5 separate regions of the Homo sapiens genome follow, and all the other regions are linked to region 5. The links are contacts of gene promoters, found by promoter capture Hi-C in blood cells and fetal thymus (Javierre and others, 2016). All regions are on one chromosome and are shown on one strand. Each heading gives the region's core, a stretch centred on a gene start or on the middle of the fragment in contact. The rest is flanking DNA. Distances are from core to core; before and after follow the strand shown.

Region 1 (2,700 bases), core at 89-2,588, 530 kb before region 5:
TATTTATGTCTATCTGCATATGCATATTTGCCAATATGTGTGTGGAGAGAGAACATATAGTGATGGTAATAATACCTACTTATACTTACGTTAAAAACATTCTAGACAACTTGTGTCACCTATTTTGCTAAGTTTCTTCATAGATTATAAATAAAGAGAGTTGGGCCTGATTTAAAAAGTTCTAGTTTGCATAGCAGTATGCTGTCTATGTAGTTCCCCCAAAGCACATAAACTATTTCTTCAAAAATGCAGCTATTTGAAGAAATATGCAATAATGTTCATTTATTTAGGCAAGGCGGTCGATTCTACCTTTTCTGTTAGTTTATCAGAAAAAAACGTTTCACAGAATACTCACAGTGTAGCTGGCCATGCTTTGCCAGAACTGAAAAAATAAATCATTCAATTGCTTCTTCCTCATAAACATACATAGAAAGCATGATACATCTTTTACAGTTTAAAAGTAAAAAAGTTCAGCATTAAGTCTGCCTTCCCAACTCTTCTGGCTTTCGGGAGAAAACCACAGAGATACTTGTTTTTGTAAATCTCCTTAAAGATAACATTTAAAGAAAAGCTTGAGAATTGCAGGCTTTGGCATGTCAATTAAATTTTTCTTTACTGAAAAAGATACAAATAAAGCAGACTGCTTTTGAACGGAGGCCTGAAGAGCAGGAGGTCAGTGGGGTAGGGGCATCAGGCCGTTTTCTGCTTCAGTCTTAGAAAACCGAGATCCCCCATTGTCCCTGCCCAGATGTTCAAAGTGAAAGCTGAGGTTTCAGAAATCATTTGGGAGGTCTCAGAGCAGAAAAAAACAGGTTTATTAACACAATACTCAAAAGAATCGGGGAAGGATTTAAATTTTTTCTTTAATCATTCCCCTCTATTTCTGCAATGCCCTCTTCCCCGCATCTTGCCTCAAGAAAGCCAGAAGACAGATTGGATTTTCTTGTTTATGGTCGCTTCTGATCCACAGCATGGGCCTGGCTCTGGTGCCCCACTGGTAGGGGTTGTGACAAGGATTAGGTGAGTAATACATGTGCAGTGTACAGCATTGTGCCTGGCAAAAAGTAGTTGGAAAATTTTTATCCAGAACAGCCTTTCCTCTCTCAAAACCACTCAGCTCAGGACAAAGTCATCTTTGACAGGAGGGCAAGTATGAGATGGGCTTCAGGTCCTGAAGGCTACCTGGTCAGTTATTGTAAAAACATTATTGTAAAAATGATCTAGAAGACAGAGAATAAACTTTCAGGGGATTCTGATACACTCTAATGGTTAAAAGTTGAGAAGCAGAATGGATTTTTAAAACACTCCAGGAACTTTATTTAAATACATACTCACACATACAAATTCATATATCTGATGTATACACCACTCTTTCAGACAAACTTTTTGTTAGAAAGGCATATAGTGACAAATGTTTGTTCTCTTCAGCTGGTAATAGGAAGAAATTACTTGAGGAGGCAAGAGAGAAGCAAAAGCATGCAGGTACAAAAAAAAGAGATTCTTAGAACAATAAATGGAAAGCTAGAAGAGTAAGAAGCGGAAGACAACAAATATGTGCTGTTCAGGTAGCTTCCTCTGGATTAAAAGTACAATTACCAATCATGACTCCAGTTACTGCTCTGTTCCACAACTCCAACCTCTGAGATCAGGAGATGCTTTCAGAAGTTAAAATTGGGAGAAATTCTGCAGTTTCCATTCACTCAGCCAAGTTTACTTTTCTCATCCTTTTATTTTCAAAAAGTCCAAAGGCTGTAACAAATCCCCTGATTTTAGAAACCAAATAAGATCCAATTATATGCTAGACAAGCCAAAAGTAATGGAAGCAAATTTGACCTTATTATCACTGATATGATTTGCTCAAAACCAGACCCAGCCTAAAATTACTGTGAAATTGTCGGCAATGAACACCTATGCATTCCAGTCCTGACAGATTCAAACTTGCAGGACTGAAAATCAATGTCTAACAGGAAACTGGAGTCAAGTCATGACTGTGTCTAGGCTATTAAATACACTTACAGTTTTTTCAATTTTCACTTTTTTAGAAACCAGATGATGGATAGGTAAGTAAGGTCTTCAGAAAACTGAGGTGACAGTAAAGAATGTTAAAAGCTTTTTAACTGTTTACATTTTATTTTCAGGCAACAGGGCAAGGGCTTCTAAATTACACTGGCTTGTTTCATCTCTCTCAGGCCATGTTGAAAAGCATCAAAGATTTCCCTTTGCACTCTCCAGATGTCAGCTTATCTGCACCACAGTGTGCATGAGCTCATAAATAGCTAACCTTACTTTTCTTTTGAGTTCGATCTTGGTGTGCATGGCTTTAAAAAAAAATCAAGTTACTTTTCAAAAAATTGCCTAAGTTATCTTTTTTCCTTACCAAGGGAATTATATTTACCTCAGAAATATTTTCAGATTTTAAAAATTTTGTTTACAAATATACTTTAATATTTAGCTCTTAGTATATCCCTGTCTGCCCTTTCTTTTCTGTTCTTAAGTGGAAAAGTGAAAGGATAGAAAGACTGGCTATAAAAACCTCACCTGGCTATTGTTTGGTTCTGGCCCTGTGTGGCCTGAGTTTACACAACATGAAAGTGATAGGGAGGCTGAGGAAAAATGTGAATCTTTTCCTTGTATTTTTGGATTAACGGGTGTGCCAAATACTGTGCTGATACTAATTTTAATAAAAGTGCTTTAATTGAA
Region 2 (2,700 bases), core at 166-2,665, 610 kb before region 5:
TGTGCAAACACTGTCTTATCTGCCTTTTTTAGTTATTGCTATTGCAGGTTGAATATCTCTTATCTGAAATGCTTGGGCCAGAAGTGTTTTGGATTTCAGATTTTTTTCAGGATTTGGAATATTTGCATATTACTTACTGGTTGAGCATGCCAAATACCAAAACTCAAAATCGGAATGCTTCAGTGACCATTTCCTTTGAATGTCATGTCAGTACTCAAAAAGTTCCAGATTTTGGAGCGTTTTGGATTTTGGATTTTCAGATTTGGAATGCTCATTTTATATTAAATCGTGTGTATTGCTTCACAGGAAATTGGCTAAAGTGTCTTATTTTCAAATACAGATGGTTCCAGACTTACTATCATTTGACTTAACAATTGACTTTATGATGGTTTGAGAGTGATAGGCATCCAGGCTGCTCATTGACTTACGGTGGAGTTGTGTTCTGATAAACCCATCATAAGTGGAAAATATTGTAACTTGAAAACACACTTACAACGTTTATTTTGAAACAGATTTACTTTCAACTTACAATGGGTTTATCAGGACATAACCTCATCATAAATCAAGGAGCCGCTGTATAACTGAAAGCATAAAATGTTTTGCCAGCTGTCAAACTCATCTTAATTAATGCGGTTTTTTTCCAGAGTTTTTCCAGTTTGTCTTGCAAGCTGATTAATTCATTGTTTTGTGTGTGTGTGTGTGTGTGTGAATTAAGGTGTTTTTGTTTTTTAAGTATTTAATGTATTAAATGCTGCTACAAATGCCCAGAAAGGCTATCCAGTGCATTGCAATCTAATTTCTGATTTTGTCTTTTCTCAGTTGGGAGCTGAAAGTGCCGACAGCATTGGTGCCGTGTTAAATAGCAAAGATGAGCAGAGAGAAATTGCTGAAACAAGAGAAACTTGCAGGTCAGTCAGATAATTCTTTTTTTTTTTTTTTTTGAGACAGGGTTTCACTCTGTTGCTTAGGCTGGATAGGCTGGAGTACAGTAGCATGATTATGGCTCACTGCAGCCTTGACTCCTGGGCTCAAGTGGTACACCTGCCTTGGCCTCCCAAAGTGCTGAGATTACAGATATGAGCCACTGTGCCGAGGCAGGTGGATCACTTGAGCCCAGGAAGTCGGGAGTTCGAGGCCAGTCTGGCCAACATGGTGAAATCCCATCTCTACTAAAAATACAAAAATTAGCCAGACATGGTGGCGGGCTCCTGTAATCCCCGCTACTCGGGAGCCTTAGGCAGTAGAATTGCTTGAAACCGGGAGGCGGAGATTGTAGTGAGCTGAGCCAAGATTGTGCCACTGCACTGCAGCCTGGGAGACAGAGTGAGACTCCGTCTCAAAAAAAAAAAAAAAATGTGAAAGGATTACTGTTTTAATAAATAACCCTAGGTAGGTATGCAGTGTATTAAGAAAAGCATCAAAATAATGATTTTAGACACAATGGTTTTTATTGTCAGTTCATTAATTATAAAATATTTATTTTCTGAGGATAGTAAGTTCCCATTTGTAAAGTACTTAGAAAATGGAATGTTAGACTAAGAATTAGCATATATACTATAAATAAACAAGTATATTTAAACATTTTTTTGGAAATAGAGTCTCGCTCTGTCACCAGGCTTGAGTGCAGTGGCGCAATCTCGGCTCACTGCAACCTCCGCCTCCAGGGTTGAAGCAATTCTCCTGCCTCAGCCTCCCCAGTAGCTGGGACTACAGGTGCGCGCCACCACCCCCAGCTAATTTTTGTATTTTTAGTAAACATGGGGTTTCATCATGTTGGCCAGGCTGGTCTCGATCTCTTGACTTTTTGATCCGCCTGCCTTGGCCTCCCAAAGTGCTGGGATTACAGGCATGACCCACCATGCCCAGCCTAAAAATTTTTATAAAAGAAAATATACTTTATCCTAAAAGTGGTATTTATTTGGTAGTTCAGAAAGCATTTCAAAATTTTTTCGCTATTCTAGTTTTCAATTTGTACGTCTGTTTTGCTCAAAACAGATTAAAATAATACATACTATATAAATTTATTTTCAATATATCCCTTATAGCAGCTTATTTTCTCATTTGGTTGCTTTCTGATAAAAATGAAACACAGAATTATCAATCAGGTTATTTGACTTTTTGGATGACTTATAAACTGCGTAGATAGATATTCTTTAATCAGGAAAAATTTGTCTTGTTCTGTTTTTATAACCTGTTTATTATTATTAATAGATGCATTTATACATCTTGTATATATTTATGGGTAATATTTCTGTTTATTTTTCAGGGCTTCCTATGATACCTCTGCTCCAAATGCAAAACGTAAGTATCTGGATGAAGGAGAGACAGATGAAGACAAAATGGAAGAATATAAGGCAAGTAGAGAGTGAAATAAGTTTATGGTCAAAGAAAACATAAATCCAAATGATAGATTCATATCCAGGAAAACAAATTTGATGGAAAGCCTAATTTTAAGATGTGCTAAAATAATTGTCAGTGGCATATGTTATCACCAGTTACATTAAGACCATTATATCAGTTTTCTTATCTTTTTCTTTTCTTTTCCTTTTTTTTTTTTTGTGACGGAGTCTCGCTCTGTCGCCAGGCTGGAGTGTAATGGCACAATCTCGGCTCACTGCAACCTCCGCCTCCTGGATTCTAAGGGATTCTTCTGCCTCAGCCTCCCAAGTAGCTGGGACTTGGTGCACCACCATGCCCAGC
Region 3 (2,700 bases), core at 172-2,671, 560 kb before region 5:
GATGGTATTTCAGTCTCCCCACTGATCATTGTCGGCAACAAACTAAAATAACGAAAGGTGGGAATACACTTTCAATCACCTGGATTAAGGCTCCACTGTCTTCACTGAGTTTGTCATCGTGCTTGAACTCCACGGTCACTGCCTTGTCACAATCGATGGCAGCCATTTCTACATCGGTGGTGTTGTTCATCAAGATTCCACCAAAGAAATCAGTGGCTCTGAAACCTAAAGATAAGGGAAAAAGGGAAATTTTGCTTGTCTTTATTCTACTGTTATTTTCTTTGTTGGCCTGTTATTAATTTGAAAAAGAAACAATTATTCAAGAGAGACCCGAAGAATTGTATAAATGATAATTACCTGTGCTGGTACGAACCCTCATAATAGCATCAAAGCCTATTTTCTTTTCAATATCATTTCTGAGGTCGTTCAAAAATTGTTGTCTATCCAAGTGCATCTAAAAAATAAAAGTCTAATCAATGTCCACCAGATGGCAGTAAAATACTTAAAATAACGTTCTCATTTTAATCCTGAGTTATAATAATTATTTTTAAAATCCCGATTTAGCATATTTTTTTATTATATATTATGCTTCTTTGGTTAAAGAAAATATAGCATTTTTGGACAGTGTTTCTTAACTTTTGAAACTAAAATCTCATCTATTATTTTCTTTCATTTTAACACTTGGATGAGAAAATCGGTTATTAATTGCAAATGGGAAAATTAAGAGAGCATAAGTGATCCACTCAGTGGCTTAGGGTTAGAGACAAGGTTAAGACCCAATGTATAATACCCGTTTAATGAGGCTAGGGAAAGACCTTGCAATTGGGGCTTTTTAAGTCTGACCACATTCAGAGCTTTGTGAAGCTATGTCAGGGAAAGTAGAAACCCCTTCTCCTAGCCCTGTTAACTACTCTACGATCACCGTATTTCTGAAAACTGTCCACATTCCACAACTAAGCAACATTTATATAATATGCACATGTGCACAATACTGAGCTCAGAGGTCACCCAAGAGAGGAAACAAACTAGCTGAGCTTCTAAAGCTTCTCATCTGTCAGTGAAACTCTTTAGGAAATTCTCACTACTACTTGACACATAGGAGAGACACTGACGCACGCATCTCATCCCTTCCCCCCAGTCCCAAACACGAAGGGAATGAAGGAGGAAAGGAAAGAGGGAGATCATAGACACAATCTTTACAATAATCCCTTTAGTTGCTTACATACAACTGGGTGGTGCCTGCATAGTTCTTGACCATCATTTTTATCTTACAATGTTATTGAATGGAAAAGACTATTAAAATTTGTATTGTTGAAGATAAGAAAGAAATGCTACGGCAGGATTCAGTTTTGCAACAACTGGAGTAAACAAACAACTGAATGGCAGCATAGGCAACATTAACACTCTTTTATTATAAAATATTTTACTGCCTGTTTACATCTTACTGGCTTTTCCTCTGCTGCATTATAACATTTCTTTTTTAGTAACATTGAAAGAATCAGTAATAATTATGGATACACTGAGGTACAAGTAAATATCCTTTTATATCAGAAATGACATGGGGTTGGCAAGTAACTCAAAAACTTAAATAGAAAAAAAAAAGTAATAAGCCTGGATGATTACACCACAGAGCACCCCCTGCCTACACATCACTTGGTAGGCTGCTCTTTGAAGCCAAGTCACTACCATGTAGATGATCACACCAGTACATAGCAAAGGACCTAGCAAGAACCCCAGCACAATTCACATATGCCAGGAATGGAAGATGATAAAGTCCTTTTTGGAAAAGTGGGGGGGGGAAAGCTTCTGATGAAATTTATCCCCCTAACTGGAAAAGGAGCTAAAATTGATTAGCATGGTAGGCTTCATGTACCTCAATACCCAGAATGTGGGTAGAATCAGTAAGGGTCAGAATTCTGTATGATTATTAAAAGTTTATTTTCTAGAGTGTATCTGAAAAAACATACTTTTATCCAGAAGTCTTAGAAAGAGTTGTTAAAGCTTTTTCAATTTTATTTCATTTACAATCTTTGGTCTTATCAAGTCCCTTAGTTTATAAAGAAATATGTAACTAGTCTCTATTCATAATTTTATTGATGATTAATAAAAACAGATGATGACTAACATTTGTCATTTATGTTGGAGAATACACCTTCCCAGTCCATGCCTCCACGCCTGCCCAGGCACACACATTAGAGGTACACCCCTGACCCCTTCTCCTTAGGTGATGGGGAGTGACTCATCTGATTAATAAGTTTGGGAAAAGGAACTGGGTGGGCACAGCCCAGCCTCTTCTGGGTCCTCTCCATAGGAAGGCAGCTTGCCTGCAGGAGGCACATATTTTCTGTCCCTCAATACAGTGTTTTTTTCAAGGCACAGGGGTCCACAGGAGAAACTCAGATCGTGCCCACTCTGTGCCGGGGCGCATAAGTTTGTGAAATTCAGGGGTGAATCAGCAAGCCCACTTGCCTGCAGACTCAGGCCCATTATAGTGCTGACATTTTGATTGTCTCTTGAATATCTCTCTCAATCAGGCTTGGAAAAGAGAAGTGTAATGAATTGATCCCTAAAATCCCAATAATTTAAAACAAATATGCAGTCACTTTTAAAAACATTATCTTAAGTATATTTTACATAAAATATATTTTTCTCCATTATGAAAGCTCACATTGATATTTGACTCTGAGGATGAATGAGCTC
Region 4 (2,700 bases), core at 83-2,582, 770 kb after region 5:
ATTTAGATAAACTCAGCTTTTTTGACTGGAACGGTTTTCTCATAACTTGCCTTGTGTTTATAGCTCATTCAAACAATAAGGTAGTCAAGCCATATTTATCAGGTTTCAGATCAGTCATGCACATTAATTCCATTATTTGTGCTGAACTTTTCAATTTATAAATTGAATATGACTTTTTTAAAATTCTTGAATAATGTACCCTTTTAACATCAGCCAACAACAACAAAAAGGCTTACTGAACTTGAGAGCTTTTGGTTTAAACTTGGAGATCAAGTGGATTAAAAATAAATGGTGTCTTTCATGATTGCTTAATCCTAATATGTTTACAAATACAGATTCTAACTTTTTGCACTCAGGTAGATGGCAATTCTCTGTTTTAAGGATCTTTCTTAATCTCTGTTACAACATCATCAAAATAAAAGAAAATTTGAAGTTTTATTTAATTAAGAATATTTCCAAGAGTATACTTGTAGACTATAGTATGAGAAACAATAGATCATAGCATTTAGTTATTTTAAAATGTATCCACAGAATTTTGAGATTTAAATGTAAAGTGTGGTTATTAATTTGTATAGTTAGACGATAAGATAGGCTCTTTTTGTTTTTGGAATTTTACATTAAGATTCATTAATTTTGAGCTATTTTAAGAATAATAAGATTCTTATTGAGTTAGTCTACATTGAAATAAGAAGAAATTATAATACTTAACTCCCAAAAGCAGCCAAAAGTACTCATAACATAGAAGATGAACATCTTCGGGACATTGTAGGTGTAGCATTCCACACTTACAATGCTTGCCTGCCTGACTTAGGAAAAAGATCAGGAGTGTGGGAAAGGCAGGTCATAGTTCTACTTATGCCCCAAGTACACTTGCCTGTACCTCCTGGGAGACTGGAACTTGTAGGGAGATTATTTGAAGCAATCTGGAAATGTGAATGCACCTTTCTCTTCTCTTTCTCAAAGGTCTTGTTTTCCAAAATAGTGTGTACTATCAGTAACAGAAAAAGTTATGAATATACTTATGTAAATGTTGGTTATTTATCTCTAAATTATAAACATTTTCCACAGTGTTAGGTATAGCATATGTGTTTAAATCATACCAGTTGTTCGAAATTAAGAAAGATGAGAAATACTTTTAAAATAATTCTGTTTATATTATTAGAAAATAAATTATTTTTACTTTCACTAAATATATTAATAACCATATTAAGATTTTTGCAGTGAATATGTTTCATTGCTTTTAAAAATCATGGTTTAATTATTTTTGAAAGAGTGGTTTACAAGTCTAATAATTCAGCTTATTTTAATAGTTTTTTTGTTTGTTTTGGGGGGTTTGTGTTTTTTGGCCAGCAGAGCTAAAAGAGATACACCACAAAGATATGAAGGTCCAAATGGAAGAAAGTACATTGTTGACTTCTTATTCTTTTTATTTACCTGTATTAGCAATTATGCAAAGTTTTTGCTGAAAAGGGATTATTAAATTTCAATTTAATGGTACCAATTAGGTGTTCTTACAAGCTGGTTAAAAAGTGACATATGATATTTTAATAATTTTAATGAATGTGTTCAAAAACAATGGTTTAAGCAGTTTTTTAACCCTTTTTTTTTTAAAAAAATATCAAAACAATACCTTCCTATTAGTTTGGGAACTAATTAAATGCATTGTTTGACCTTTTAGTTAGTTTTGGAACTAATTTGTAATTTAGAAAAATTATAGTTTAGAGAACTCTGTTTCCAAACTTTTCAATTGTACAGATGAGACTTTTTTAAAAAATAGTTTATCCAGGCCAGGTGCGGTGGCTCATGCCTGTAATCCCAGCACTTTGGGAGGCTGAGGAGGGCGGATGACGAGGTCAGGAGATTGAGACCATCCTGGCTAACACAGTGAAACCCTGTAAAAAAAAAAAAAATACAAAAAATTAGCCGGGTGTGGTGGCGGGCACCTGTAGTCCCAGCTACTCAGGAGGCTGAGGCAGGAGAATGGCATGAACCCGGGAGCTGGAGCTTGCAGTGAGCTGAGATCGTGCCACTGCATTCCAACCTGGGTGACAGAGCGAGACTCCATCTCAAAAAAAAAAAAAAGTTTATTCAAACGTGCTCCTTCCATAACATGAGTGTCTTTTGAAAAACGGAATGGAAGAATGTTAATTTTTCTGAAGTTCTTGTTAGCACAGTACTGCAAAGAGAAAGAGCCAGTAAATCTGGCACAGCTGACTTGCATTTCCTCAGGGTACCAATCATGGCCTATGACTCCCTTTTTTTTCTAAATTTTTAAAACTGACAAATAATAATTGTACATATTTACAGGGTGCATAGTGATGTTGTGGTCTATACAATGTATAGTGATCAGATCAGGGTAATCAGCCTATCTATCATCTTAAACATTTATAATTTCTTTGTGTTTCAAACATTCAATATCCCCATTCTAGCTATTTTAAACTATTATTAACTTGTAGGATGTAGTCATCCTACAAGTGCTGTAGAACACTAGAACTTACTCTTATCTAGCTGTAATTTTGTTTCCTTTAACAAATCTCTCTGTCCTCTCTTTCCGCCTACCCTTCCCAGCCTCTAGTATTCTCTGTTGTACTTTTTACTTCTGTGGGATCAACTTTTTTAACTTCCACATATGAGTAAGAACGTGACCTTCTGACATGGAGACTGTGTGAGTGTGCAATGTCAGTCCATTTTTTGAAATCC
Region 5 (2,700 bases), core at 199-2,698:
CTATTTCAGCTTCCCAAGTAGCTGGGACTACAGGCGTGAGCCACTGTGCCTGGCCCTCTCTGTCTTCTCTAACTTACTACACCATCCAAGAAATGAGACAGTGAGGCTTAAGACACCCAAATCTTGGTGAAAATATAGGATGGGGGTTGGGGGTGTAGAAGAAGTGACTGCCTATCAAGAAGTGAGAATTTCAGAAGTAACTCATAGGCATGGTGACTAAGGAGTTAACAGTGAGTGAACAATCAACTCCAAAGTCCAGGAGAGCTGTCTAGATGGGCTACACTGCTCTTCTCCCATAGGAGCCCTGTTTCATCTCACTGCTTCTCCTTAGCTTGTCTCTTAACACCATCTCCATTTGGTGTCTGCTTCCTCCTGCCCTATTCTCTTAAGTTCCCTTCCTTTACCCTCTGCCAGAATTGTCTTTTCAGAGCGAGTGGCGATGAAAATGGAGAGCATGGGTTTTACAAGTAAACTCTACAGAATTTTGTAACTTGGTGTTTTAGGATATGTGGATGTGTGTAAGAAAAGGGCAAAGTGTCTCAGGTTTCTGGGAGGTAACGGTGGATAAAGTTGGCGTTTACTGAAATGGTAACGCTGCAAGGCAAGTAAATTTGGGTAAGAAGCTGTTAAGAGTTCAGTTTTGGACATGTTTAGTTTGAGACAGCTGCGTGGTCTGCTCATGGTTAAACAGCTGTATAGTAAAAATAGCTTTCGTTGAGCACTTACTACTGCCAGGCAACATGCAAATCACTACGATCTCAATCTTCACTACACCCCTATGACCTGGGTTACTAATGGTCCCAAATGGCAGATGAAAAAATAAAGCTCCAAAAGGCGAAATAACTTCTCCGGTCGCTTCATGGTGCTGCAGGAACTCAAGCCTAGCTGGTTTCATTCCAAATCATGAGAAAATATGACGCCAAGTTTTCTCCACACTTCTTTGGAGACTCCCACGGACGTGCTAAAGAAGGACATTTTACTCCTAGTCCTTCTCCCCCACCCACCCGACTGCGCCACTCACCAGCTGTGTGATCTTGGACATATATAAACTCTCTGGAATTCAGTCCCCTCCCCGCCCAAAAGCGAGCAAATGATCTCTAAGCTCCTTACCACCCCAATTTTGCATTCGAGATACTCACCATGGCAAAAAATACACAAAGAGAAACACCACCACATCGAAAAGGATGAAAAGCCAGAGGTCCAACCAGTAGGAGTGTTTGGGAAGCCCATTTGCCCCAGACTGAGGCCTCACATCGAAGTTCTGCCTCCCTCCCTCGCTAAAGCCTCGCCGCTCCCGGAGACCATCTCGACCATCAACACCCGGTGCGTCCACCTCCATCTCGCTCCTGCAGCTTCGTAACAACCCTAGAAACCGAAAATGCTTAAGTTCCCGGACTTTGGTGTTCGCCGCACCGGAAACTGAGCGGAGTCCGGCCGCCTGCGCAGTGCGCCGCGCCCCGGGTTCCGGAATGCACTCTGAACCTACTCTTCCCAGCGCGCAGGCGCCTGGCTCGGCTTTCCGCTGCCTCCGTGACCGCTGGCATGAAGCGCGGCCTCCGCCTTGACACTAAGTCAATGGGCCCGCCTACTTCTGCCTCGCGGCGTCCCAGGCAGATAGCTGGTTATTCAGGTTTCGTTGGAAGAAATACGTTCTCGTCCCCCTGAAAGGCCCAGTCCAGTCAGGTGATGGACTCCTCCCTGAAACTGCACGAGGTCACCTCTCCTATCCCCGTATTCCGTTTGGATCCTTATGCCAACGTGTTAGGAAGGCCCCCTCTGGTGGGTTTTGTACTGTCTCTAGCATTTGACACTTAATATTTAAACACCACCAATGAGGTGGACGTCCTACTCACGGGACTGAGTTTCCAAACGGGCCAGAGAGCAGCACGTGAGCATTTTGCAGGTACTTCAAGGGAGTGGGTTTAAGAATAACCTGGCCGCGCCCCCCTGTAATCCCAGCACTTTGAGAGGCCGAGGCGGGCGGATCACCTGAGGTAAGGAGTTCGAGACCAGCCTGGCCAACATGCTGAAATCCCGTCTCTACTAAAAAAAAAAAAAAAAAAAAAAAAATCCAAAAATTAGCCGGGCGTGGTGGCAGGCGCCTGTAATCCCAGTTACTCGGGAGGCTGAGGCAGGAGAATCGCTTGAACCCGGGAGGCGGAGGTTGCAGTGAGCTGAGATCGTGCCACTATTGCACTCCAGCCTGGGCAACAGAGCGAGACTCCATCTGGGGGGAAATGGGGGTGGGAAGAATAACCCAAAGGTTATTTGACTTTGAGTGTGAGCCTCAGCAAGAACAGAATGCTAGCAGGAAGAAAATGACCTATACTGCCTGGATTTTACCTCGTGGGTCCAATTTCAAATATTCTCTTTCTTGTCACATTATGATTCCTGAATTGTTCAGAAAATAACGGGCACCCAGACATATAAGTGGTTCTCTTGGTGCATAGTAAATGGAGATAAGACTGTAGTTGTGTTTTTACAAAGTCATTAAATCGTCGTAAAACCTCTTTGAAGGGGCAGTACTCCATCTTATAGAATTAGGAAATGAGACACAAAAGGAGTGAATTGTCTAAGGTTACTAAAAAAATTATAAAGCCTAAAATTAACTCCAAATCCAGCACTCTTAAAGCTGTTCCATAGCTTCCTAACCTTGCTCCAATTTGCCTCCAAATCAATTGCCAGGTTTTAGAGACAAAG

The links. The method cuts DNA at HindIII sites, captures the fragments that hold promoters and counts their contacts. A CHiCAGO score of 5 or more calls a contact.
Region 1: a contact is called between a fragment that was not itself captured here and the fragment with the promoter of ARLN in region 5, in 1 of 17 cell types (total B cells). The highest score is 6.3, in total B cells.
Region 2: a fragment that was not itself captured here is called in contact with the fragment with the promoter of ARLN in region 5 in 1 of 17 cell types (total B cells); the score reaches 5.1 in total B cells.
Region 3: a fragment that was not itself captured here is called in contact with the fragment with the promoter of ARLN in region 5 in 1 of 17 cell types (total B cells); the score reaches 6.4 in total B cells.
Region 4: a contact is called between a fragment that was not itself captured here and the fragment with the promoter of ARLN in region 5, in 1 of 17 cell types (total CD4 T cells). The highest score is 5.6, in total CD4 T cells.

What each region holds. Positions count from the first base shown.
Region 1 is chr4:118,768,853-118,771,552 of GRCh38, forward strand. The region is part of intron 8 of SEC24D (SEC24 homolog D, COPII component); the gene reads right to left. Among named protein-coding and RNA genes, the nearest start is that of SEC24D, 66 kb to the right of the region's middle. The HindIII fragment of the contact is 1,538 bases long and covers 570-2,107 here.
Region 2 is chr4:118,687,104-118,689,803 of GRCh38, forward strand. It overlaps METTL14 (methyltransferase 14, N6-adenosine-methyltransferase non-catalytic subunit), which reads left to right. Exons shown (of 11, transcript NM_020961.4): 2 at 820-908; 3 at 2,267-2,354. Among named protein-coding and RNA genes, the nearest start is that of METTL14, 3.1 kb to the left of the region's middle. The HindIII fragment of the contact is 4,493 bases long and covers 1-2,700 here.
Region 3 is chr4:118,740,584-118,743,283 of GRCh38, forward strand. It overlaps SEC24D (SEC24 homolog D, COPII component), which reads right to left. Exons shown (of 23, transcript NM_014822.4): 16 at 358-454; 17 at 80-225. Among named protein-coding and RNA genes, the nearest start is that of METTL14, 57 kb to the left of the region's middle. The HindIII fragment of the contact is 760 bases long and covers 1,042-1,801 here.
Region 4 is chr4:120,073,746-120,076,445 of GRCh38, forward strand. All of the region lies in intron 1 of MAD2L1-DT (MAD2L1 divergent transcript), which reads left to right. Among named protein-coding and RNA genes, the nearest start is that of MAD2L1-DT, 8.1 kb to the left of the region's middle. The HindIII fragment of the contact is 2,762 bases long and covers 1-2,700 here.
Region 5 is chr4:119,299,197-119,301,896 of GRCh38, forward strand. ARLN (allregulin) reads right to left here and starts at 1,449. Exons shown (of 2, transcript NM_001001701.4): 1 at 1,140-1,449. The coding sequence starts at 1,339. RefSeq lists enhancers at 1,043-1,092, 1,193-1,422. The HindIII fragment of the contact is 14,870 bases long and covers 1-2,700 here.